Regions from separate parts of the Homo sapiens genome. Here all the other regions are linked to region 1. The links are contacts of gene promoters, found by promoter capture Hi-C in blood cells and fetal thymus (Javierre and others, 2016). All regions are on one chromosome and are shown on one strand. Each heading gives the region's core, a stretch centred on a gene start or on the middle of the fragment in contact. The rest is flanking DNA. Distances are from core to core; before and after follow the strand shown. Region 1 holds the start of SIGLEC14 (sialic acid binding Ig like lectin 14). Region 2 holds the start of KLK5 (kallikrein related peptidase 5). Region 3 holds the start of KLK8 (kallikrein related peptidase 8). Region 4 holds the start of KLK13 (kallikrein related peptidase 13). Region 5 has its middle 5.2 kb from the start of CTU1. Region 6 has its middle 8.4 kb from the start of SIGLEC7.

Region 1 (4,361 bases), core at 1-2,500:
TGGAGTGCAGTGGTGCGATCTCGGCTCACTGCAAGCTCCACCTCCCGGGTTACGCCGTCCTCCTGCCTCAGCCCCCCCAGTAGCTGGGACTACAGGCGCCCGCCACCACGCCCGGCTAATTTTTTGTATTTTTAGTAGAGACGGGGTTTCACCATGTTAGCCAGGACGGTCTTGATCTCCTGACCTCGTGATCCACCCGCCTCGGTCTCCCAAAGTGCTGGGATTACAGGCGTGAGCCACTGCGCCCGGCCTTCTTTTTTTACTGTTCTTCGTGGAGCAGGGGTATGCATAAGCAGTGTGCCCAGAGGAGCCCCCACTAGGATTTTTGACTTACCTTCTCATCCTAAGAGTTTATCCTTTGCTGTATCTCCAGCTCCTAAAACAGGGGGCCTGGTGCACCATAGGCGCCCATGAAGCATCAGTTGAATGAGTGAATTCTCGGGGCCAGACACTGTCCTAAGCACTTTACACATGAGACCTCACTGAATCCCCACACAGCAATTCTATTATTGTCTGCATTTTTCAGCTGAGCAAACTGAGGCACAGAGAGGGTAGGTAACTTTTGTAAAGTTCAACAGCCGGTAGGTGAGGGGTCTGGGTTCACACTTGGTATTCCATATCCTCAACGTTCACATTTCAAATGCCCGGCTCTCAAGCCTCATCTGGCTGTCAACATCAGGGATGGGGTCTGACGCTGCCTGGGACAAGGACAAGGATGAGATGAGGTTCCCAAATCCAACTGGTGGTGGGGACCACATCTCTCTTGACTGCTAAGGACCCGGTCATGTCCACCTGATGTGTTTGTCCCTGACAACTTGCCTTCCCTCTGGAAAGAGGAAAGTCTTCCCCACCTGAAACCCCCAGCGTGTGCTTCCCTCACCACAGCTCCTATCATGTCATAAAGGATTTATTCTCCCATCTCGCTGAGGGTCCCGAGGCCCTGACTCCCAGGGAGCTGGCCAAGTGGTGTTCTCCTTCCTATGTAGACAAAGGTGCATAAGGAAAGTGCTGCAGCTATGGGACCTGGTGACCTCAGGAGTCTAGACTTACAAGTCTGGACAAGCCCCTCTGGGGGCCTCAGTATCTTCACCATCGGCGTCCAGTGGGGGTGGGAGCAGAATGGCTTCCCAGCCCCAGCCTCACCCCAACAGCACGTGATGCCCAAGTTCCCCTTCTGTGCGCGTCCACAGCTCTCACTCACCCTCCGGCTTCCTGTCGGGGCTTTCTCAGCCCCACCCCACGTTTGGACATTTGGAGCATTTCCTTCCCTGACAGCCGGACCTGGGACTGGGCTGGGGCCCTGGCGGATGGAGACATGCTGCCCCTGCTGCTGCTGCCCCTGCTGTGGGGGGGTGAGTGAGCTGAGGGAGGAGGGACAGGCACAGGGGTGAGAAGGGGGGCTGGAGCTGCAGCTGAGCTTCTGTGTCCCCCCAGGGTCCCTGCAGGAGAAGCCAGTGTACGAGCTGCAAGTGCAGAAGTCGGTGACGGTGCAGGAGGGCCTGTGCGTCCTTGTGCCCTGCTCCTTCTCTTACCCCTGGAGATCCTGGTATTCCTCTCCCCCACTCTACGTCTACTGGTTCCGGGACGGGGAGATCCCATACTACGCTGAGGTTGTGGCCACAAACAACCCAGACAGAAGAGTGAAGCCAGAGACCCAGGGCCGATTCCGCCTCCTTGGGGATGTCCAGAAGAAGAACTGCTCCCTGAGCATCGGAGATGCCAGAATGGAGGACACGGGAAGCTATTTCTTCCGCGTGGAGAGAGGAAGGGATGTAAAATATAGCTACCAACAGAATAAGCTGAACTTGGAGGTGACAGGTATGGCAGGAACCCTAGGAGAGGACCCTGGGACGTGGAGACCCCCGTATGAGAACAGGGACAGGAGTTGGGCAGGGGCGGCTGGAGGAGGTGTAGGACTTGGGGCAGGTCGGGGCCTGAGGCCTGGCCACTCTCGGGGTCACACCTTACGTCCTCAAGCCCCTGGGGCCCAGGTATCTCCCTGTCTCCTCCTCAGCCCTGATAGAGAAACCCGACATCCACTTTCTGGAGCCTCTGGAGTCCGGCCGCCCCACAAGGCTGAGCTGCAGCCTTCCAGGATCCTGTGAAGCGGGACCACCTCTCACATTCTCCTGGACGGGGAATGCCCTCAGCCCCCTGGACCCCGAGACCACCCGCTCCTCGGAGCTCACCCTCACCCCCAGGCCCGAGGACCATGGCACCAACCTCACCTGTCAGGTGAAACGCCAAGGAGCTCAGGTGACCACGGAGAGAACTGTCCAGCTCAATGTCTCCTGTGAGTGGTGCTGGGGACACAGCTGAGTCCCCAAGGGCAGTGGGAGTGAGGGGGGTGTGTGTGTGTGTGTGTGTGTGTGTGTAGAAGAGAGAGAGAGAAAGAGAATGATAACCAGGGAAAACTCGTGTGTGGGCAGGAAGGACAGCGGTCCCCACCTGGTGGGTTTCTGTGGCCCCTCCTTGGGTCCCTCCCGGGACCACGCCCATCCCTCTTGTCACCTCTGAAGCTGGTGCTGTATCTTTCTATCCCAGATGCTCCACAGAACCTCGCCATCAGCATCTTCTTCAGAAATGGCACAGGCACAGGTAGGAAAGACCCTCTTCCCTCTGGGGCTGTGATGGGAGCCTTCTATTAGCTCAGGGTTCAGCATTGGGAGAGGAGACCCTCCCTCACCCCTCAGCCCCTGGGTCTGGGTCCTTCCTGCTCCCAACCCCCCAATCCCAGTCACTAAGATCTTGCACGAACAGACCTAGTATTTCTTTTGGCTTCTCCCTTTTCTCTGCTCTCTTTTTCAGATTTATTTTTTCATTGTGAGAAAATACACATAGCACAAAATTTGTCATCTTAGCCATTTTAAAGAGTACAGTTCAGCAGTGTTAAATGTGTTCACATTGTTGCAAAACCAAACTGCAGAGCTCCTTTTATCTGGCAAAACTGAAACTTTGTACCCACTGAACAGCGACTTTCCACTTCCCCCTCCTGCCACCGAGCAGTCACCATTCTACTTTTCTGTCTCTGTGAGTTTGAGTACTCAGGACACGCTGTTCCCTTTTCTTGAATTTCTGCCTGCTCCGATGTCCTCTGATGCATGCCCTGCTTCATCTCTAACTGATCGTCCTTTTTGGGAGCCTTCGACTTTCCCACCTCCCACAGCTCTGTCCCAGAACCCAGTTCTTCCCCTCCACATTCCTGAGTAATCCGATCTCTCCTTGACCCTGTCCTGATGCCTCCCACAACTTTATATCCAGCCCTTTCTCTGAGGCACAGATCTGCACATTTAGCCACCTCCCTCGGATGCTTCTCGGCTCCTCCTTCCCTGTTGATCCCAGGGCTGTTCTGGACATCGCTGTAGACAGCACCCTTTCTCATCAGCTGTTTCATGAGTCCGCAAGTCTTAACACCTTTACTTCACCAATCATCACTTCCCTCCTCATCCCCTTGGTTCCAGGCCCAGCTCAAGTCTCGTGCTCAACCCTGGCCCATTGCCCCAGCCTCCTCCCAGCCTCCCTGCCTCCTATCCCACTTCTCTCCAGTCCGGGACCTACTTGGCTCCAGCAGGATCTTTCTAGATCCAGTGCTAACTCTGTTTCCCTTGCTTATAGCCCCCTCTTGCTTTCCAGGATAAAGCCCAAGGCCCTCAATCTGGCACCCAATGCTCCAAAAGATCTGAGCCTGCTTCTACCTCCATTATCGTGTCTTGGGAGCTCTGGGTCCTCCCTGACAGGTTGCGGATCTAGGAGCCTCTTTCCTCGTCTGCCTGTCTCAGTTCTTGGCACGTCTGCACCTGAGCTGCCCATCCACTTCTCCTTAATGTGAGAACTCCTCCTCATCTGTCTTTTCTCAGCTCAGCCACCTTCTTTCTGGTAGCCTGACCTGATCACCAAGTCCTCATCCTTTCACCCATGACTAGCCCATTCTCAGCACTCACCACACAGTCTTGTCTTTCTTCTTGCAGCTCAGTGGGAGGAATGAGGGAGAATTGGGCCTCCCAGCTCCACTCACCTGGCTGTGCTTCTCTTTCCCAGCCCTGCGGATCCTGAGCAATGGCATGTCGGTGCCCATCCAGGAGGGCCAGTCCCTGTTCCTCGCCTGCACAGTTGACAGCAACCCCCCTGCCTCACTGAGCTGGTTCCGGGAGGGAAAAGCCCTCAATCCTTCCCAGACCTCAATGTCTGGGACCCTGGAGCTGCCTAACATAGGAGCTAGAGAGGGAGGGGAATTCACCTGCCGGGTTCAGCATCCGCTGGGCTCCCAGCACCTGTCCTTCATCCTTTCTGTGCAGAGTGAGTTGCAGGACAGGTGCTGAGGGTAGACAGCCCGGTGAGGTATTCAGGTTGGTGGGAGGGAC
Region 2 (4,361 bases), core at 60-2,559, 690 kb after region 1:
GTATTTTTAGTAGAGACGGGGTTTCACCGTTTTAGCCGGGATGGCCTCGATCTCCTGACCTCGTGATCCGCCCGCCTCGGCCTCCCAAAGTGCTGGGATTACAGGCGTGAGCCACCGCGCCCGGCCATGATCATCTTCTTGACTATGCTGATGTGACAAGTACCTAAAGCCATCAGACTCTACCCTTTAAATATGCAGTTTGGGCCAGGCACCGTGGCTCATGCCTGTAATTCCAGCACTTTGGGAGGCAGAGGTGGGTGAATCACTTGAGGCCAGGAGTTTGAGACCAGCCTGGCCAACATGGTGAAACTCTGTCTTTACTAAAAAAAAAAAAAAAAAAAAAAAAATCAGCCGGGTGTCGTGGGGCACACCTGTAATCCCAGCTATGCTGGAGGCTGAGGCACGAGAGTCACTTGAACCCTGGAGGCGGAGGTTGCAGTGGGCCGAGATCACATCACCGCCCTCCAGCCTGGGCGACAGAGCAAGACTCTGTCTCAAATAAATAAATAAACAAACGAACAAGCAGTTTGTTGTACCTTAGTTATATCTAAAAAAAAAATGCTGTCAACAAATAGAGCAGAAGTGAAATAAAGGAAAATAAATGGGCCAAGAACTCTAAGGTATATTTGACAAATCATTCAGAACCTTTAAAAAAGAAAGAATCACAGAGGCATAGAAAGACAGGGAGGAACAGGGAGACAGAAACACCTGTGGCCCAAGGAGAACAAAACAAGGCTCCTAAGACAGACAGGAGGAGAGAGAGAGAGAGTGAGTGAGAGACAGACAGAGAAAAAGACAGAGAGAGAGAGACAGAGACAGAGAGACAGAGAGGCGAGAGGGATAGAAAGAGAGAGAGGGGTGGAGAGAGACACGAGATATTGAGAGAGACTCAGAAAGATAGCCGAGGGAGAACCACAGAGAGATGGAAGAAGACTCTGAGAAAAAACCAGAGACAAAGATGGAAAGAGGAGTATCGAGGGTGAACAGACAGTGGTGGAATGAGCAAAATGCAGAGAAGAAAGCAAGCAATCCAGGCGCCAAGAATAGTGACCCAGAGTTGGTGAGAAGCCAGATCCTTAAGGCTGGGGGAGGCAGGGAAGGGGCTGGCCTGGCTTCCGGAGACCCCTCCCCATTCTCCGGGCCAGGGAGGTAGGGAGTGACATTCCGGACTGGGTGGGGGGTGCTCTGGGGGTGGAGATAGGGGGAGCAGGAGGAGCTATTGCTAAGGCCCGATAGGCACCTCATTGCCCGGGAATGTGCCCCAGGGAGCAGTGGGTGGTTATAACTCAGGCCCGGTGCCCAGAGCCCAGGAGGAGGCAGTGGCCAGGAAGGCACAGGCCTGAGAAGTCTGCGGCTGAGCTGGGAGCAAATCCCCCACCCCCTACCTGGGGGACAGGGCAAGTGAGACCTGGTGAGGGTGGCTCAGCAGGCAGGGAAGGAGAGGTGTCTGTGCGTCCTGCACCCACATCTTTCTCTGTCCCCTCCTTGCCCTGTCTGGAGGCTGCTAGACTCCTATCTTCTGAATTCTATAGTGCCTGGGTCTCAGCGCAGTGCCGATGGTGGCCCGTCCTTGTGGTTCCTCTCTACCTGGGGAAATAAGGTAGGGGAGGGAGGGGAAGTGGGTTAAGGGCTCCCCGGATCGCCTGGGCCTCCCAACCCTCTGACATTCCCCATCCAGGTGCAGCGGCCATGGCTACAGCAAGACCCCCCTGGATGTGGGTGCTCTGTGCTCTGATCACAGCCTTGCTTCTGGGGGTCACAGGTAACCAGAACTCTGGGGTGGGAGGGTTGTGGGATTGGGAGGACTGTCTCTGCGGCACTAGAGCGCCTGTCCCCTGGGGAACTGTGTGAGCCTGGGCATGACTCCGGGACCGGGTGAATGTGAGTCTCTGTCTGTACTTGTGGTTGTGCGATCGTATGTGGCCCTGTGACTGCCACGGTGTGTGTCGGGGAGGGGGATGCCTTTTCCCATATCAGGTGACTGTGCGGCAGGTGGCACTGACCCTTTGAGGCTGTGTGTGTGGTTTTGTGATTGTGTGTGCATTTAAGATTGTGTGTGGCTCCACAGCTGTGTGGGTGAATGCATGTAGCACTGGGGGTGTTCACTGTGTGTTTGGCTGTGTGTGGTGACTTGGCATTGTATATGACTGCAGGTATCTGCAGTTCCTGTCCCTGAGGTCCCGGGATTGCGTGCAACAAAAGTGGTCATCACCATGGAAAGCTGTGACTGTGTGCTGCTTGCAGGCGATTATGTGATTGTGGCTGAGTGTGACGTTATGGATGCCCGTATTTGTGACCGTGTGACTACCTGAAGCTCTGTGTAGGGGTGACTGTATGTGACTGTGTGTGTCTGTGTGAGGCCGTGTAAATGCTACTGTATGTGTGATGGTGCAGCTGTGTGTCTGGAGTTTCTGTCTCTGCCTGGAGGGATAGAGGGTGCAGGGGTAGCTATCTCTGGGAGATGGGTGCCAGGTGACTGACTTGCAGTGTGTGCCTGTGTGCAGAAGAGTATGTGGCAGTCTGAACATCTGTGCACACACGGCATCTGTGCGTGGCACTGAGACACTGTGGATGAGGGTGTGCGATCCCGCTAGGCTGCCCGGGAGCGTGTGTACCTGGAGACAGAGCTGTATGTTAGCTGCACCTGTGGAGGCAACATGGGCGTGTCTGCAGAACTGCGTGCGTGCTTGGCTGTTACTGCTGTTGTGCGCGTGGTTCTTGGGGTGAGTTCGTGAATGATGGTGGTGCCAGGGCCATCAGCAAGGGTAAGAACCAGGCCGGGCGCGGTGGCTCACGCCTGTAATCCCAGCCCTTTGGGAGGCCGAGGCAGGCGGATCACCTGAGGTCGGGAGATCGAGGCCAGCCTGACCAACATGGAGAACCCCGTCTCTACTAAAAATACAAAAAATTAGCTGGTGTGGTGGCGCGTGCCTGTAATCCCAGCTACTCGGGAGACTGGGGCAGAAAAATCGCTTGAACCCGGGAGGTGGAGGTTGCGGTGAGCCGAGATCGCGCCATTGCACTCCAGCCTGGGCAACAAGAGCGAAACTCCGTCTCGAAAGAAAAAAAGAAAAAAAAAAGGGTAAGAACCAGTGAATGGGCACGGGAGGACTGATGATGGAGTGGGGCATGCATGTAGTCTGTAGGTCTGTGTGTGAGAGGAGGAGATTGACAGGATTGAGAAGGCATGTTTTCATCTGAGAATTCAGAAACCTAGGCCTGCTCTTCCCCTCCATGTGGCCCCCTAAGCTGAGCCCTTCTTTCCTGGTCCTGCTTTCGGAACCCTAGCTCCGCCCATGAGCTCTGACCCCACCTCCTTTCCTCAACCACGCCCCTAGGCCAGACTCTAGTGGACCCCGCCTAAGGCCACACCCCTTTGGGCCAGGCTCCACCCCCTATTCTGTGGGTACCTTCTAGAACCCCCTTCAAAGTCAGAGCTTTTTTTTTTTTTTTTTTGGAGACAGTCTTGCTCTCTCTCCCAGGCTGGAGTGCAGTGGCGTGATCTCGGCTCACTGCAACCTCTGCCTCCCAGGTTCAAGTGATTCTCGTGCCTCCACCTCCTGAGTAGCTGGGATTACAGGTGCGCGCCACCACGCCTGGCTAATTTTTGTGTCTTTAGTAGAGACAGGGTTTCACCTTGTTGGCCAGGCTGGTCTCAAACTCCCAACCTCAGGTGATCCGCCCACCTCGGCCTCCCAGAGTGCTGGGGTTACAGGCGTGAGCCACCGCCCCCAGCCCAAAGTCAGAGCTCTTTATAGGAGACTCTAACATGTAACCCTGACCCTGGCCCTAACTAAGTCAATTCCAAACCCCTTCCTGCCTCCAGCCCTGACCCCACTCACTGAGGCCTGACCCCACTTCTTGAGACCAGTTCCATCCCTAAAGCCCTGGTCTCCCTCCCATCCCCAGGCTCCAGCCCCCACAGCTTTGGCACTACCCCTGAGCTTGTCCAGGAATCCTGTACCCAATTTTACCCTCACATGTAGTTCTAGCCAATTCCAGGAATCTGTGAGGTCCAGTTAGAGTCCAGTAACCCTACCTGAGCCTGGGCTCTGTCCTTGAGCTTGAGCCTGGGCTTGAGAGGTGCCACTCTTATTCTCCAGGCCCTGCCCCTGCCCCCTCAGCATGTCAGACACCCACCCTCTAGCTGGTCTGGCCTCTTGAGTCTGAAACCCACCCCCAGCCCAAGCCCCGCCTCTGAGCCCCGCCCAACCCATTTTCCGTTCCCAGAGCATGTTCTCGCCAACAATGATGTTTCCTGTGACCACCCCTCTAACACCGTGCCCTCTGGGAGCAACCAGGACCTGGGAGCTGGGGCCGGGGAAGACGCCCGGTCGGATGACAGCAGCAGCCGCATCATC
Region 3 (4,361 bases), core at 746-3,245, 650 kb after region 1:
GACTGGGATACCTGGTTCCTGGGAGAGGACGGGACCAGGGCCTGGACTCCTTAGTGTAAAAGAGAAAAGGTCTGGAGGTCCAGACTTCTGGATCTACAGGAGGAGTGGGCTGGGCGTCCAGAGTCTGAGTCCTCGGGGAGGAGGAGGTTAGGTCCTGCGGGGAGGTGGGCCCTCTGAGCTTTTACTCCTGGGTCTGAGGAAGAAGAGGCTGGAGATGGAGGACTCTCGGATGTTGGAGGAGGAAGGGGCTGGGGCCTTTCTGGGAGGGAGGAAGTGGCCCGTGTAATTGTCATGAACAGAGTGGCCTAACAGTTCCTCTGCCCTTCTCTCGCGTACAGGGTGACTCTGGGGGCCCCCTGGTTTGCAATGGAACCTTGGCAGGCGTGGTGTCTGGGGGTGCTGAGCCCTGCTCCAGACCCCGGCGCCCCGCAGTCTACACCAGCGTATGCCACTACCTTGACTGGATCCAAGAAATCATGGAGAACTGAGCCCGCGCGCCACGGGGGCACCTTGGAAGACCAAGAGAGGCCGAAGGGCACGGGGTAGGGGGTTCTCGTAGGGTCCCAGCCTCAATGGTTCCCGCCCTGGACCTCCAGCTGCCCTGACTCCCCTCTGGACACTAAGACTCCGCCCCTGAGGCTCCGCCCCCTCACGAGGTCAAGCAAGACACAGTCGCGCCCCCTCGGAACGGAGCAGGGACACGCCCTTCAGAGCCCGTCTCTATGACGTCACCGACAGCCATCACCTCCTTCTTGGAACAGCACAGCCTGTGGCTCCGCCCCAAGGAACCACTTACACAAAATAGCTCCGCCCCTCGGAACTTTGCCCAGTGGGACTTCCCCTCGGGACTCCACCCCTTGTGGCCCCGCCTCCTTCACCAGAGATCTCGCCCCTCGTGATGTCAGGGGCGCAGTAGCTCCGCCCACGTGGAGCTCGGGCGGTGTAGAGCTCAGCCCCTTGTGGCCCCGTCCTGGGCGTGTGCTGGGTTTGAATCCTGGCGGAGACCTGGGGGGAAATTGAGGGAGGGTCTGGATACCTTTAGAGCCAATGCAACGGATGATTTTTCAGTAAACGCGGGAAACCTCACCTTCTTTCTGCCTGAGCTGTGAGATGAGTGGAGAGCAAACGGGTGGGCGGTGAAGGGCAGATGAGGGAACCGGTACCGCCTTGCAACTCCCCCTTAAACCCCTAGTAAGTTTTGCCTAAAGTCTCTGTCCATCAGCCCTATTGCAGCAAGACTCCTGGGTTCTGCTTGGGTTGGTCTTGCCGCCTCCAGGGGAAGGGGAAACCAGGTCACAGTGCCTCCCAAACCTGCCCTCCCAGATCCCGGACCTCTCAGGGGACAGCGGGCGGGGCCTGATCCACCCTCTGGTTTCTGACCCTAGAAGACCTGCCTTTCTTCGGTTCCCGGTTACTGGCAGCAGCCCCCTCCTCCCACAAAAGATCAGGTTCCAAGCTTCTCCTTTTAAAAGTACTTAGAATTCAGCCCCCAGCTCTCTCCTCCCTCACACCCAGGAATCCAGGCCCCTAGCCCCTCCTCCCTCAGACCCAGGAGTCCTGGCCCCTAGCAGCCCCCTCCTCCCTCAGACCCAGGAGTCTGGGCCCCCAGCCCCTCCTCGGTCAGACCTAAATCCCAGGTCCCAGTCCCTCCTCCCTTAGATTTAGGAGTCCAGGCCCCCAGCCTCTCCTCCCTCAGACCCAGGAATCCAGGCCCCCAGCCTCCTCCCCTCTCAGAACTAAAATCTTGGCCCCCAGCCCTTTATGTTTCAGATCGTAGAGTCTCAGCACCGAGTCCCTCCTCTCCCTAGCCTCAGGAGTCTGAGATTCCAGCCCCTCCTCCCTCAAGATTTCACGTTCAATCCCCTCCGCCCCTTCTCACTCACACCCAGTGTTCCAGTTCCCAGAAGCTCCCCAGGCTCTAGTGCAGGAGGAGAAGGAGGAGGAGCAGGAGGTGGAGATTCCCAGTTAAAAGGCTCCAGAATCGTGTACCAGGCAGAGAACTGAAGTACTGGGGCCTCCTCCACTGGGTCCGAATCAGTAGGTGACCCCGCCCCTGGATTCTGGAAGGTGAGGTGCAGAGGTACTCAGATACAGACATCAGGCCCCGGACCCTCCTTCTCCAGATTCCAGGACCCCAGCCTCAGATGCCCTTCTCTGTCGAGATCCAGCAGTCTGGACCCCGGCTTCCTCCTCTCCCTAATTTAGGAGTCCCAGCTCCCAGCTCCCTGTCCCCTCAGACCCAGACATCGAGGACTCCCCCCTCCCTTGGAATGTAGGAATCCAGTCCCCCAGCCTCCTCCTTCCTCCAGAGAAGCCCAGAACAGCCCCAGATACTCTCGGCTGCCTCCCCAGTGCCCAAATCCAGAACTGGGAGCTCAGGCTCCTCCTTCCTGTTTACCGGCCCCGCCCTCTCCATTTCCCAGACCTCACCATGGGACGCCCCCGACCTCGTGCGGCCAAGACGTGGATGTTCCTGCTCTTGCTGGGGGGAGCCTGGGCAGGTGAGGAGGGTTGCGGAGGCCTCCGGAGGGGAGGGATCTGAAGGCAGCAGTGGCGCTGGGGAGTCTGTGGGAATGCCGCGGGGGTTATGTGGGTGCGTGTGCACGGATGTGAAGAGTGCGATACGGTGCAGGAGCCTCTGTGGGCTTTCCTCAGGGTGGACAGAGGCAAGAAACAGGTAGCAGCAGGTAGGAGTAGGTTCCGTGATGCTGTAAATTGTCTGAATAGCTACAGCCTTTGGGGGCTGCTTGCTTGGGGGCATAGATTCACCTGGGAGTACTCGGGGCCTGTAGACTCATGTGGAAGCATGTGGGGGCATTCTTGGGTGTGTGACTCTTGTATGATGACACATGGACTGAAATGAGTGTCCCCGTGTGGCAGCGTGTGGAAGCCTGGACCTCCTCACTAAGTTGTATGCGGAGAACTTGCCGTGTGTCCATTTGAACCCACAGTGGCCTTCCCAGCCCTCGCACTGCCCCAGAGGGTGGCGATCCAACCCTCTCCCTCCTGCTGCAGGACACTCCAGGGCACAGGAGGACAAGGTGCTGGGGGGTCATGAGTGCCAACCCCATTCGCAGCCTTGGCAGGCGGCCTTGTTCCAGGGCCAGCAACTACTCTGTGGCGGTGTCCTTGTAGGTGGCAACTGGGTCCTTACAGCTGCCCACTGTAAAAAACCGTGAGTGGATGATGGGGGCAGAGGTCAGCTGGGGCTTAAGGAAAGAGGGGGCTGGGGTTTCGACTCAGGAAGGAGAGAGCTGAGGACTGGACTCCTGGGTCTGAAGGAGGAGGGGGCTGGGGGCAATACCCCTGCCTGGGTCCCAAACTATCCCCACCATTACAGGAAATACACAGTACGCCTGGGAGACCACAGCCTACAGAATAAAGATGGCCCAGAGCAAGAAATACCTGTGGTTCAGTCCATCCCACACCCCTGCTACAACAGCAGCGATGTGGAGGACCACAACCATGATCTGATGCTTCTTCAACTGCGTGACCAGGCATCCCTGGGGTCCAAAGTGAAGCCCATCAGCCTGGCAGATCATTGCACCCAGCCTGGCCAGAAGTGCACCGTCTCAGGCTGGGGCACTGTCACCAGTCCCCGAGGTAGTGGGCTTGTCCACTAATGGGAGGGAGAGGAGGAGCTGGTTGGCCCAGTGGAACCCAAGCTATTGGCAAAGCTTGGTCCCCCAGAGGGAGACAAAGAAGGGAAAGTGATCATGATGTTGAGATTCACAAGCAGGAGTCATATGAGAAGCCTCGAAGATCTGACTACTAACAAGAGTGGTGAGAGAAAGAACCAACTAGCAGATTGTTAAGCAGGGCCAGAAAAGCCCATCCTGTATGGCGGAGAGCACTACCCTATGGGACCTTTGGTTGTATAGGATTTTATATAATCTTAACACACTTGGGATATTTGGACTTCTCAGAGGCCCAGGAAAACAGGCTCCTAAGCACCTTCTCCCCCACCTCCCTCCTTTTTTTTTTTTTTTTTTTTTTTTTTTTTTTTTTTTTTTTTGCAGGGGGACACAGTTTCACTCAATCGCCCAGGCTGGAGTGCAGTGGCACAATCTCAGCTCACTACAATCTCTGCCTCCTGGGTTTAAGCGATTCTCGAACCTCAGCCTCCCGAGTAGCTGGGATTACAGGCACCCGCCACCACGCGAGCTAATTTTTGTATTTGTTGTAGAGACAGGGTTTCGCCATGTTGACCAGGCTGGTCTCGAACTCCTGACCTCAAGTGATCTGCCCGCCTCGGCCTACCAAAGTGCTGGGATTACAAGCATGAGCCACCGCCCCTGGCCTTTTTCTCCTTCTTGAACCCAGGAAACCTGGGCCCTGGTCACCTCTTCCCTCAGACCCGG
Region 4 (4,361 bases), core at 513-3,012, 580 kb after region 1:
ATGTCAGAGAGTCATGGTAAGACCATGTTTTAAAAGTTACCCTTTGACACTAGATTTGATCTCCACATCCAAATCTGAACTCCATCAATAAGGACTGTACAAGTTTCCATGTGAGCCCTCGCCCCATCCATCTCTATTCTTTATCCTCATTGTGACACCTCCACTCTCTCACTCTTTCCAAACTTCATCTGGTCCACGTCCCTGGCTTTCTTCCAAATTCTGACCCCACCTCAGTCCTTAATCCCTAATCCTGTCCCCTCCACCCCCTAGGATTAACTCAGGGCTCCACCCAGTCATAGTTCCTGGAGACACCTACTCATTCTCAAAACACCACCCCTTCCTCCTTCCTCTCCCCCACCCCCAATCCACGTCTTCAAAGCTTTCCGGCTCCTGCTTTTTCCTCTCCACCTAGGTCCCCGTGGACTCCCTCACCCCCTCTGGCCCTGCTCCTAAAAGGCCATTTCTGGAAAATGTTGCTTTCTCAGGTCGCATCTCTGCCCCCATCCAAGTCCGAGGGAGCTGATTTTCTATCCACCCAGCTGATGATTTCCTTCTTGTGTCCGGTGGTTGGCGGGAGCAGGGAGGCAGGATGATGGGATAATTGTGGGTGTCCTTGTGTCTTTCAAAAGAAAAAGGGTTGAGATGAGACTGGGAATTGGAACCTGGATGTGTTGAGAGCTAAACCTGAGATGAGGTTGGAGATGGGACTGGGGTTGAGGAACAGGCTGGAGTACTTGGTATGGTTAGGGATGGATAGGGAGGTGGGAATCTGATAGAACACGGCCATCTGGGGGCTGACTGCCTATTAAGAATTATGCATGGGGTTGGAGAAGAGGTTAGAAAACTGGGTGCAGAATGGGTTGAAGTTAGGGATGGGCATGGAACTCAGCGGGGTAGGGGGAAGGAAATGGGCTTTCCCCTTACCCTTTTTTGGGTCCTGAGGCCTGAAAGTTCACAGTGGGTTCAACTCTGCCTTGGGCGGGGTCAGACCTAGGTCCCAGCACGTCCTGGAAGCTCCGCCCCAAGCAGAGGGCCAAGCCCAGGTCGGGGGTGCCTGGAGACATCCCGCTGAGCCACTGGGGGTGGAGAGGGGGAGGCCAGGGACCAGGAAATGCTGAGTGAGCTGGGGGAGGGAGTTCAGGGGTTAAAAGCCATGGTTCGGGGCTGAAGTTCTAGACAGCTGGCGGCTGACGCTCCTCGTGGGCCCCTCACTCAGGTAGGGTCTGCCTGGGGCGGGGGCGGGGAGCGGAGGAGGGCAGGGAGGGGAGAGAAGAGGGGATAGGAAGGATGGGGAAAGCAGAAGGGCAGCTGAGTCAGGGAGAGGGAGAGTGAAGCTAGAGTCTCAGATCTAGAGAGAAACCTGCAGAGACGGAGAGAGGCGAAGGGCGCGGACAGATAAGAACTTGGGCTAATACCAAGCGTGTGGACAGACCCAGAGGGGTAGAATGGAAGGCAGACTCTGGAGGAAAAGGGCGAGAGTGCACCGACCACCCAGCTCGCCAGAGGGCAGGGGAGGAGGGACGGCTTCCTGGGGTGAGGGGCTGCACGCCGGAGCCCCAGGAGGTTGCACACTGTTCCTCCCACCTCGCCACTGCACCCCCACCAAGGATGGAATTGGAGGCGGGGGGCAGATTCCAGGGTCAGGGCTGTCAAGAGTGAATGAGGCGAGGAGACATTCAGGAGCAGAGAGGTTTCAGACGCGGAGGTTCCGGGCACGCCCTCAACACCCCCTTCACCTTCTCCTCAGGCCCCGCCCGCCCTGCCCTCCCCTCCCGATCCCGGAGCCATGTGGCCCCTGGCCCTAGTGATCGCCTCCCTGACCTTGGCCTTGTCAGGAGGTAAGAATGCGCGGGGGTGGAGGCGCGGCGGCCATTCGGGACAATGGTAGGAGGGGTCAGGCCGGAGGGGGAGGGGGCGTGGGAGCCGCGAGCTCCGCCCCCCGCCCACTCGGGGCCGGGTCCAGTGGGGACAGCTCAGAGCTCTTCCTGCTTGTCCCTGGGTGACCTGGTTTCCCGGCTGAGGTTGGCCCTCCGACCCCAGACCCTTCACCTCCCAAAATACCCTCGCAGCAGCCCCTCCCGCGTTCAAGGCTTCCTGTCCTCTCTGGAAAGCTGAAAGACATGGGTTCGCGTCCTGACGCTGCCGCTTTGAGCCAGTAGCCTAGCAGCTGCTTTGTGCCTAAATTGTTTTCATCTGGAAAATGGGCTTAATCTATAAGTGCTTACCAGAGAAGGTCACTGTGAATATTGAAACGAGGTAATGCGTCGAGCCTTCAGTATGTCGCAGGTAGAAGGGACTTGAAAGTTAGCCACTTAGCCGTTATTACTTTATTAGTAGTATTCCTTTTTTTTTTTTTTTTTTTTTTTGAGATGGAACCTTGCTCTGTCTCCCAGGCTGGAAGGCAGTGGCACGATCTTGGCTTACTGAAACCTCCGCCTCCCGGGTTGAAGCGATTCTCCTGCCTCAGCCTCCCGAGTAGCTGGGATTACAGGCGCCCGCCACCACGCCCAACTAATTTTTGTATTTTCAGCAGAGACGGGGTTTCGCCATGTTGGTTAGGCTGGTCTCGAACTTCTAACTTCAAGTAGCCCGCGTCAGCCTCCCAAAGTGCCAGGATTACAGGCATGAGCCACCGAGCCCGGCCTCTAGTATTCTGTCTTCATACTCAGCCCCTTCCAGAACCTTCTAGATTGTTATTTTAATCCTTGGGTTGACCCCAAACCTATGTGACCTCACCCCAAATTGGTAGTCCTTAAGATCCTTATGGATCTTTCCCATCTTTCCCTGCCGTTGTAGGCAGGTTCTCTGGAAACCCCGTTCATGAATCATTTATTCATTCAACAAACAGCTATTAAACACCGGCCACTGTGCTGGGTGCTGTACAAGCAGAGACACAGTCCCTGCTCTCAGCACCTGGAGTCTAGCGGGGACAGACGCAGATGTTATTCAAACAATTATCCAAATAATTAGTTAATAATTATCTTGACATGAGGTGAAGACTTCAAGGAGCCAAGCCAGGGGCCTAGAGATGTAATGGCGGCTTCCCGACCAGAGGCCTTCCCAAAGGGCTTGACCCTTGAGCCAAGACCTGAAAAAGGAGGGATCTGTGGGTGCCTGGCACCTGGCACCATCCTTGGCCTGAAGGTGGGGTGGCTTTTCTCCTCTGGCGACACTCCCTGGATTCATGCCCGTGCCACTCCTGAGTGCCACACCCTAGGCTAGGAGACCCACACGCTACGCCTTGTGGAGTCCTCAACAACCTGGCGAGGTAGGTGCATTGTAATTACTCCAATTTCATGGCAGAGAAACCTAGGACTCAAAGACAGAAGGCTCCTGCTCCAATGACACCGGCGATGCCTGAGTCAGAATCCTAATCAAGGTTGTTTTCCCTGTCCATATCCTGGACTTGAGGCTCTGAAAACCATTTTTATAACTTTTGACCTAATCATTTGCTTAAAGTTAGCTTTTTTTCTTCTTTTTTCACTCAAACAAAAGCATGTTCAACTTTATATTACTGTCCTGAATAGAGAATAGAATTCTTTGTCATAAATAGAAGGTAAGGAAGGAAATAAATCCTGCACAATGAAAAGAAAATAATATGTTTATTGGGTTGGACCACCTGAAATTGCTGATACTTGACCCTTTTTGACCTTCCTAAAACAACTTTTGCAGATGGTTCAGTGTAATAAATGTTAGGTGGCCTGATGAGGCTTCTGTGTCCTCCTGGCTTTGAAAAGTGAGCTCAGTGAGGATTAGGGAGGTGTTAAAACCATATTAGCACCATCCTGAGACTTTATCCTTGACAAAATCAGGTTTAAAAGAGAACTGGATGCTGGTTCAGCGTCTGAGTGTGCGATTTAACGTTACTTAAATCTCATCTCTCTACCATCTAAAATGATCCTGTGCTCACCGACAACTTCTGTCCCTAACTGCAAACCACTGAGCTAATCCAACTGCTTGCCCTGTAGTTGGGGAAACTAGCTAGGGAGGCAGAGGGACCTCCTGTTGTAGCTAATAATTAATAATAACATTTCCCACTGACTGAGTGCTCTCCATGCCACCTGCTGTGCTGCACGGTTTGAAATGCAGGATCATCTTGAATTCTTCAACTGCGCAATGAGAGATGAACTATTACTTTTTCTACTTGACAGCTGGGGAAACTGAGGCTGGTGATTTGCATAAGGTCACACAGTCACAAAATGGCATGCATGTTCAGGATTGGATTCTCCCTGTCCCACGGACCCCTGCTGTGCTTTCAATGCCAGACACAGTGCCTGGCACACACAGCATTTATTTATTGAGCCCCCATTGTGTGCCAGGCGCTGTGTTAGGTCCTGGGAATATGGTACTGAATAAAGCAG
Region 5 (4,361 bases), core at 889-3,388, 530 kb after region 1:
TGTTGGGCACAGGGACTGGGAATCCTGGCTCCCCCACCCACCCTGCTGCACCACCACAGGAGACATTGGGCTGGTGATCACGTGAGCTTCAGAAGACATCACACATCAGGGTAGTTGAGGTGACATCCCTAGGATTGTAGGGTGAGGACCTAGAAATGTGTATCTGCCCCGATCCTTTATGTGCTGTGATATAGTGAACTCTCTCCTCCCTCCAACCTTATCTTGAAAGAATTTTTCTGGGATGCAGATAAAGGAGGGGCCACACACAAAGTCATAGCTGTCCCCCCAAGACAGGGTGGACCTGGTAAGCCCCGGGCAGCAGGGATGGTGCTGTCCGTCCGTGGAACTGCAGCACCATCAGCTCCTGAGTTCAGGTATTACCCGGCTCTGCAGAGGGGTCTGACCCCACGAGCATGAAACCTAAGCCTCGAGCCAAAAGGGCAGCCATATAACATGGGCTGGTGGGAAGGTCTGGCTTGCCCAAGAGAAAAGGATTTGGGGAGCAACAGATTCTGTCATCAGTAGGCCGAGCTTCTCTTATGTTCTTCCTCTCTGCTTCCCAGTTCATCCTCAGGGACTCTGCTGGATGTCCTGTTGTTCCTGTTCACTTAAGGATAATGAGACTATAGGAAAAACTATAGGGGGAAAAAATGGGCCTAAGACTGAAGATCCTAATGGGGACCTGAAGGGACAATGATTCCAGGAGAGCATTGAGCCATATGGAGAGAGATTGAGAACTGGAGTGACAGGGACTCAGAGGAGGGGCCGCCAGTTTTTAGAACTAATACTTACAATAGTAAGGTCAGGTGTTGTGGCTCATGCCTGTAATCCTAGCACTTTGAGAGGGCAAGCCAGGCGGATCACCTGAGGTCAGGAGTTCGAGACTAGCCTGGCCAACATGGTAAAACCCCGTCTCTATTAAAAATACAAAAATCAGCTGGGTGTGGTGGCGGGCGCCTGTAATCCCAGCTACTCAGGAGGCTGAGGCAGGAGAATCGCTTGAACCCAGGAGGCAGAGGTTGCAGTGAGCTGAGATGGTACCATTGCACTCCAGCCTGGGCAACAAGAGTGAAACTCCATCTCAAAAAAAAGAAAAGTTTGACTTCTGTTAGACAGGAGAAAGTGCAATAGATTTATAGTGCCTGACCAAGAAAAGGAAGCTTTATTTAGCTATCATGTCCCTTTCTTCCAGTCATCTCATTTTGCAACTTCTTCAAACAAAGCATGAAGAGAGAAAGCAAAGAATAGTGAAATGTGAGTACTGGGGTTTCTCTGTTCACCACATCCTCCTGGTTTTCTGACTGGAAACCAGTCAAAATGGTCCAGACTTACTGACTAAGACGTCGATCACAAGTGATGGAATCTTTGTGTATGCTGGTAAAAGAGAATTTGATGAGAGGATTTTGCAGTTTCCCACATCATCTAAGAAGAGTAGGGCAGCCTGTTGGGAAGGACAGATCTCCATGAGCCTCCCGTCCTCCTACACATCTCGTTGGGTATTGCCCAAAACATGATGGTCTGAGATCTCGTTACCTGGCCTAGTTCTCAGGTTGTGTTTGCAGGGAGCCACCCTGAGGGATGGGGTAATGTCTCCCTCCAGGACAAAGAGTAGCCTCACTTGCTGCTGGCTGTAAAGGAGCTAGATTCTCCAACTTGCCAGTTTTGTTTCTCGGGGTCCTATCAAACTGAGACAGAGGTTTCTCTGAGCCTTATCCTATATCAACAATATTTACCAAGTCACTCTAGGAGTCAGAACAAACCCAATTTCTGTCCCTATGGGCTCACCATCTAGCACAGTGGAGAGCATTGAAAATGCCTTCACAGACAACGGGGCCATTAGGAGGGTGCTGGGGTCAGAACAAAGACCTGGGCTACAGGCAGAGATTTCACAAGTAACAGCTTTATTTTTTAATTTTTGAATACATATATTGAGAGTTTATTATATGTCAGGTATGATTCTTGTTGAACAAAATAGACAAAAATGTCTTCACCTATTACTACATGTTAGATGGAGACTTGCCCTGGGAATGAGGAGTGAGGAGCATTTTCCAGGGCCCCAGAGCTGAGCACAAACAGATAAAGGGGAAGGGCAAGACTGGCAGGCCTGTTTCTCCCCTCTTAAGGATTGGGCTACCAGGTGACAAATGTTCAGAGACGTCCAAATGTGGGGCAGGTAGTCAGCTAAATGACCCCAGAGGTAGGTATCAAGGCATGATGACTCTGGAAGAATAGTTGCAAGCCGTATCTTGCAGGCTTACATATCAAAAAAAGTCTTGACTTTATATTGAGGGCACTGGGGAGCCATGGAAGGATTAAGAGCAAGGGGGAGGGGCAGAGTCAGCTCTTGGTGGGAGAAGGTATCCCTCTGGGGTGATGTGAGGGAGACTTTAGGGAGAGGAGGAGAGTGGAGGCCAAGAAGTTGGAGAGGAAAACAGAGTGGAGGTCTGAGCAGAAGAGGAAGAGGATGAAATGACTAGGAGCAGAGGCCATGGGGATGTTGAAGGGGGAGTGAAGTGAGCCTATTCCAGGAAGGGAAGTTTGCAAGACATCTTGCAAACAGGATATGGTAGGTGATAGAGAAATATCTATCTGACTCCTAGAATCCTAATTTGGATAATGATGATGGTTCCATCACTGAGAAGGGGGGAAATGTGGTTGTCTGGGGCTCAGAGCAGATTGGGATGAACAGCATGGTGTGCAAGACATCGGGGGGAGCCACGAGAAGTGCAGAGAGAAGAGAGGGTGCGAGGAGGAGCTGTGGAAACTCACATAAAAGGCTCCTGGGATGAGGAGAACGAGAGACAAGGCCAAAGAGAAACAGAGGGCCCTTCAGAGAGTGTTGCCAACAGAGAGTCTTTCCTGGTGCCTCCTCTGGCCAACAAAGTTTATTAGCACTGCTGTGGGAACCCAGGCAGACCTACCATTTAGTAAGGAGATGCAAAAACTAACAAGAAGGCAGTGGGACAGAGCTGGACTTAGGGCAAAATAAGGACTGTTTGATACACTACAATGAAAACAGACAAACCAACCAACCACAGACAAAAATCCCGTTCCTCAGTAGGCTCCACGGGTGAACGAACTCTCTTCATGCAGAAATTCTACCCAGGGAAGCTTCTAGCCCTTCGAGGGGTGGGGAAGCAAGTGCTGCCAGTAACAAGCACCAGATATAGGAAATGGCCCTCAGAGATGCACATTGATGCTGCAGGAACCAAAGCTCCCAGAGCTGGAGAGAGACAGCTGAGCCCAGCCACCATATCTTCCACCAGACGCGGATTGCTTAGGATGGCAGCTAGATGACCTGGAGATGGCAAGGCATTCTGAGGCTGGAAGGGTGTGCAGGGACCAGATCATGCAGCACCTCCGTTGCAGTCTGCAGAGGTTTGACAATGGAAAGCCTGATGGCAATGGGGAGCCATGGAAGAGTTTCGAGAAGGGGAGAGACAAGGTTAAATCTGGGGCTAGTGTGGGAGGATTCAGGAATGAAGGGATTAGAGGTTGGGGTGAGAGAGTCCAGGCAAGAAACGGCCGGCGCAGTGGCTCACATCTGTAATCCTGGGACTTTGGGAGGCCGAGGTAGGCAGATCACTTGAGGTCAGGAGTTCAAGACCAGCCTGGCTAACACAGTGAAACTGTGTCTCTACTAAAAATAAAAAAATTAGTTGGGCATGGTGGTAGACACCTGTAATCCCAGCTACTCCGGAGGCTGAAGCACGAGAATTGCTTGAAGCTGGAAGGCGAAGATTGCAATGAGCTGAGATCATGCCACTGCACTCCAGCTGTGGTGACAGAGTGAGACTCCATCTCAAAAAAAATAAATAAATAAATGAATAATTTAAAAAAAAGGATGAGCTGAGCCAAGGCAGGGCCACAAGGATGAAGGGAATGGTCTGAGAAACTTTCAAGAAGCAAAACTGGCAAGTTTCACTGAACAATGGGGAGCAGTGGGTGAGAAAAAGAGTCAGCGAAGTGATTCAGGATCCTCACCTAGAGGCTGAAGCATGCCAGTGCCACCACCAGGGGCTAACTGTGCAGGTCCGAGTCTCGGGATGCAGTGGAGATATGCAGGAAAGTGGGGAGGCATCAGGGCAGAGACGGAAGTTGCGGGAGTGGCAGGAGTGGATGAGCTCACCTGGGGAGTTTGCAGAGAAATGACAGCGCTGTGGAGTACAAGGCTCCTGGCAAGTTGATTGACATGGTTTGGCCAGAAAGAGGACCAGGGAGGGTAGATTTTGTGGTCAGGGCAAAGAGACTCAGAAGTAGGTAGAGCCCAGGTTAGACCTTTATTTGTCAATAAAGAGGCCACTGGTGTTGATCGGGAGACTGTGTTAGGGGAGACAGGAAAGAAACCAGACAGCAGAGGG
Region 6 (4,361 bases), core at 1,324-3,823, 510 kb after region 1:
TGGATGGCAACAAAGATCACGGAGATTCAGGAGAAACTCGAAACCCAGTCCAAGGAATGTAGGAAATCCAATAAAATGATTCAAGATCTGAAAGATAAAATAATCATTTTAAGAGAGAATCAAACTGATCTGTTAGAGCTGAAAAACTGCAAAAATTTCATAATACAAGCGGAAGTATTAACATCAGAATAGATTAAGCTGAGAAAAGAATCTCAGAGCTCAAAGACCAGTTCTCTGAATCAACCCAATCAGACAAAAATTTTTAAAAAAAGAATTAAAAAAAATGACAAAACCCTCCAACAAATATGGGATTATATAAAGAGACCAAACCTACGGCCCACTGGAATCCTGGAAAAAGAGAGACGCAGCAACTTATAAAACATATTTGAGGATATCATCCACAAAAATTTCCCCAACCTTGCTAGAGAGGTTGACATATAAATTCAGGAAATTCAGAGAACCCCAGGAAGATACTGTACAAGATTACCATCCCCCAGACACAGAGTCATTAGATTTTCTAAGGTTCACATGAAAGAAAAAATATTCAATGCAGCTAAAAGGAAGAGGCAGGTCATGTACAAAGGGAACCCCATCAGGCTAACAGAAGAGCTTTTAGCAGAAATCATATAAGCCAAAGACATTCGGGGCCTATATTCAGCATTCTTAAAGAAAACAAATTTCAGCCAAGATTTTCATACCCTGCCAAACTAAGCTTCATAAACGAAGGATAAATAAAATCCCTTTCAGACAAACAAAAACTGAAAAAAATTCATTACCACCGGACCTGACTTATAAGAGGTCCTTAAGTGAGTGCCAAACACAGAAGTGAAAGAATGTTACATGACACCACAGAAAGTGGTGTTAAGTGGTTAAGTGTATAACCCACTGACATTATGAAGCAACTATACAATCACGTCTACATAACAACCAGCTAACAACATAATGACAGGATCAAATTCTCACATCTCAATATTGACATATCAATAATGCTTTCGCTGGCTGTCCCTTTTGCATAGAGTCCAGCATGAGACGCAGAGGAGACTGGGATGCTTAATGTAGCCAGATGGGGCTGATGTAGCTCCTGAGTTAAAAATACATCTTTCTTTGGGACAGAAGGAACCACGTAATTTACTCTAGTCCAGTTTGGTCCTAGCATCCAGGAAAGTAAAGATGCAATGTACCAGAATACCCATATCAAAAAGTTAGAAAGATCCCAAATTAGCAACTTAACATTACACCTAGAGGAATTAGAAAAACAAGAGCAAGTCAACCCCAAAGCTAGCAGAATAAAACAAATAACCAAAATCAGAGCTGAAATGAATAAAATTGAGATACGAAAATTCCTACAAAAGATCAGTATACCCCAAAGTTGGTTCTTTGAAAGAACAAATAAGATTGATAGATCACTAGCTAGTCTAATAAAAAAGAGGGAACCAAAAGCTTTCATCATTTAAGAGTTTTTAATTTCTCTTTCATGAAAGGTAAATTTACATACAGTAAAATACATAGATTTTATTTGCGTGATTCAATGTGTTTTGATTCATAACCACATAATTACTATCCCAGTTAAGACATAGACTATTCCTAGGACTGGCTGGGCGCAGTGGCTCACGCCTGTAATCCCAGCACTTTGGGATGCAGAGGTGGTTGGATCACAGGGTCAAGAGATCAAGACCATCCTGGCCAACATGGTGGTCTTGGCCAACATGGTGGTCATCTCTATTAAAAATACAAAAATTAGCTGGGCATGGTGGCCCGTGCCTGTAATCCCAGCTACTCAGGAGGCTGAGGCAGGAGAATCGCTTGAACCCTGGAGGCGGAGGTTGCAGTGAGCCACTGCACTCCAGCCCGGCAACAGAGCTAGACTCCTTCTCAAAAAAAAAAAAAAAAAAAAAAAAAAAGAAAAGAAAGAAATAAAATTCCCAGGACCCCAGAAAGTTCCCCTGTGTGCCATTCACGTTAATCCCCAAATCCCACTCCCAACCTGAGGCAGTCACTGTTATGAATTTCTGTCTTTGTAGATTAGTTTGGCCTGTTCTTGAACTTCATATAAGTGAAACTACAGAGCATGTATTCTTTTGCATCTGGCTTCTTTGACTCAAGATGTTTTCAAAATTTATTCAAGCTATTGCATGTATTATATATTGTTATTATATATTGATGAGTATTATGCCGTTACATGGAAACATGTAATCAATTTTAAATATTAATTACTTAGATTTTTATATTATTTTCTCACTAAATGTAGGACATTTCAAGTGCTCAGTAGCCACATGTGGCTAGTGGTTACCATATCAAACAGCACAGTTGTACAAACATTATAGTCTCCGCTTTTACTTTTAGGTTTATGATTCGCTTCAGGCTAATTTTTTGCGTGTGATGTGAGAAACAGCTCAACACTCGTTTTTACCAACCCTAATTTCACTTGTTCCGCTAACATTTATTTTTTATTTATTTATTTATTTTCAAGATGGGGTCTCACTCTGTCGCCAGGCTGGAGTACAGTGGCACAATCTTGGCTCACTGCAACCTCTGCCTCCTGGGTTCAAGCAATTCTGCTTCAGCCTCCCTAGTACCTGGGATTACAGTTGCCTGCCACCACACCCAGCTAATTTTTTTTTTTTTTTTTTGTATTTTTGGTAGAGATGGTGTTTCACCATGTTATCCAGGCTGGTCTTGAACTCCTGACCTCAAGTGATCCACCCACCTCAGCCTCCCAAAGTGCTGGGATTACAGGTGTGAGCCACCGCGCCCGACCACCTACCAACATTTATTAAAAGTCTTTCCTGTCCCAATTGAATAGACTTGATGCTATTCAGTTGACTGTATATGTGTGGGTCCATTTGTAGACTGTACTCTAGTCCACACCACACTCTCTGTATTACTCTAGTGTTAAAGTCTGCCTTCTCTAAATGTGTTTCTTATCACAATGATTTGGTTATTCTAGGTTTTTATGTGTTTATATAAATTTCAGAACCAACTTATCAATTTATAACTATATATGTATATATATAAACTTATATTTACAATATACATACATATACACTCATCTATACTTATGTACATACATATACACATATACATATATTTTATATATATATAGGAATTTTGACAGGGATTACCTAAATCAATATGCAGACAACTGACATTTTAACCATTTTTGCCTTCTAATCCATGAACGTGATATATTTCTTCCTTCATTTGGGCCTTCCTTAAGTCTCTCAAAAATGTTCTATATTCATCAGTACAGAAGCATTCCGTGTTATCTTAGTTCATTTGTGTTGCTATAGAGTAATATCTGAGGCTGGGTAATTTATAAAGAAAAGAGGTTTATACAGCTTGTAGCTGCAGTGAACGCCAAGAATGAAGCACTCAGACAATTCCAGCTGAGCGGGATGCGGCGGCAGCAGCATCTCTGAAAGAGTGCCGCCCCAGAATCCGTCCGCCAAGTGTTTCTCGAAAGGGTTTGTTAAACCAAAATGTCCACCAGATGGCCTTTTGCGGTCGGGTCATGAGACACATATGGCCTGGTAAAAACACTCAGACTACAGTCTCAGGAGGCTGCTTTCCGCGCTCCTTATCACACATTCCGTTCCTTGCCCTGTTTTCAGGGTCAAGGAGTTTCAATCTCATGCACAAACAACACGCACACGGTGCCTCAGTATTTTTCCATGCCTCGACCTCAAATGCCTTGTACATAAGCTTGAATATGTTGCCGTGCACCCCCCACAGTTTATTTGGCTCACAGTTCTGCACCACATAGAAAATGCTTGGCACCAGCCTTTGCTTCTGGTGAGGGTCTCAGGAAGCTTCCACTCATGGTGGAAGGCAAAAGGAAGTCTGCATGTGCAGACAATACGGCAAGAGAGGAAGCACGGGCTGGGGAGGGGAGGTGCCAATGTCTTTTTAACACCCAGCTCTTGGAGAAACTCTCACAGGAAGTAACAGAGTGAGAACTCTCTCATTACCTTGAAGACAGCACCAAGCCATTCATGAGGGATCCAATCCCGGGACCTGAACACCTCCCATTTGGCCCCACCGCCAACACTGGGCATCAAATATCAACAGGAGGCTTGGCAGGGCCAAACAAACCATATCCAAACCATAGCATAGGATTTTTTTTTTTTTTTTTTGACACAGACTCTTGCTCTGTCGCCCAGGCTAGAGTGCAATGGCACAATCTCAGCTCACTGCAACCTCCGCCTCCCGGGTTCAAGCAATTCTCCTGCCTCAGCCTCCCAAGTAGCAAGGACTACAGGCATACGCCACCTCGCCTGGCTAATTTTTGTATTTTTAGTAGACATGGGGTTTCACCATGTTGGCCAGGCTGGTCTTGAACCCCTGACCTGAAGTGATTTGCC

The links. The method cuts DNA at HindIII sites, captures the fragments that hold promoters and counts their contacts. A CHiCAGO score of 5 or more calls a contact.
Region 2: the fragment with the promoter of KLK5 here is called in contact with the fragment with the promoter of SIGLEC14 in region 1 in 6 of 17 cell types (naive CD8 T cells, erythroblasts, total CD8 T cells and 3 more); the score reaches 8.5 in naive CD8 T cells.
Region 3: a contact is called between the fragment with the promoter of KLK8 here and the fragment with the promoter of SIGLEC14 in region 1, in 1 of 17 cell types (total CD4 T cells). The highest score is 5.3, in total CD4 T cells.
Region 4: a contact is called between the fragment with the promoter of KLK13 here and the fragment with the promoter of SIGLEC14 in region 1, in 2 of 17 cell types (activated CD4 T cells and fetal thymus). The highest score is 5.2, in activated CD4 T cells.
Region 5: a contact is called between a fragment that was not itself captured here and the fragment with the promoter of SIGLEC14 in region 1, in 1 of 17 cell types (neutrophils). The highest score is 10.3, in neutrophils.
Region 6: a contact is called between a fragment that was not itself captured here and the fragment with the promoter of SIGLEC14 in region 1, in 1 of 17 cell types (neutrophils). The highest score is 7.7, in neutrophils.

Annotation. Positions count from the first base shown.
Region 1 is chr19:51,643,714-51,648,074 of GRCh38, reverse strand. It overlaps SIGLEC14 (sialic acid binding Ig like lectin 14), which reads left to right and starts at 1,250. Exons shown (of 7, transcript NM_001098612.3): 1 at 1,250-1,352; 2 at 1,435-1,818; 3 at 2,015-2,293; 4 at 2,545-2,598; 5 at 4,039-4,296. The coding sequence starts at 1,316. The HindIII fragment of the contact is 8,795 bases long and covers 1-4,361 here.
Region 2 is chr19:50,949,986-50,954,346 of GRCh38, reverse strand. It overlaps KLK5 (kallikrein related peptidase 5), which reads left to right and starts at 1,309. Exons shown (of 6, transcript NM_012427.5): 1 at 1,309-1,600; 2 at 1,679-1,762; 3 at 4,231-4,361. The coding sequence starts at 1,690. It overlaps LOC105372442 (a long non-coding RNA gene), which reads right to left and starts at 4,224. Exons shown (of 7, transcript XR_007067308.1): 1 at 4,040-4,224. The HindIII fragment of the contact is 21,591 bases long and covers 1-4,361 here.
Region 3 is chr19:50,999,238-51,003,598 of GRCh38, reverse strand. KLK8 (kallikrein related peptidase 8) reads left to right here and starts at 1,995. Exons shown (of 6, transcript NM_007196.4): 1 at 1,995-2,067; 2 at 2,424-2,501; 3 at 3,016-3,175; 4 at 3,341-3,603. The coding sequence starts at 2,432. KLK9 (kallikrein related peptidase 9) reads left to right here. Exons shown (of 5, transcript NM_012315.2): 5 at 339-1,091. The coding sequence ends at 488. The HindIII fragment of the contact is 2,221 bases long and covers 1,459-3,679 here.
Region 4 is chr19:51,062,493-51,066,853 of GRCh38, reverse strand. KLK13 (kallikrein related peptidase 13) reads left to right here and starts at 1,762. Exons shown (of 5, transcript NM_015596.3): 1 at 1,762-1,838. The coding sequence starts at 1,787. The HindIII fragment of the contact is 5,030 bases long and covers 382-4,361 here.
Region 5 is chr19:51,111,449-51,115,809 of GRCh38, reverse strand. No RefSeq gene overlaps it. Among named protein-coding and RNA genes, the nearest start is that of CTU1, 5.2 kb to the right of the region's middle. The HindIII fragment of the contact is 1,951 bases long and covers 1,163-3,113 here.
Region 6 is chr19:51,131,688-51,136,048 of GRCh38, reverse strand. It overlaps a transcript of SIGLEC9 not described here. Among named protein-coding and RNA genes, the nearest start is that of SIGLEC7, 8.4 kb to the left of the region's middle. The HindIII fragment of the contact is 2,262 bases long and covers 1,443-3,704 here.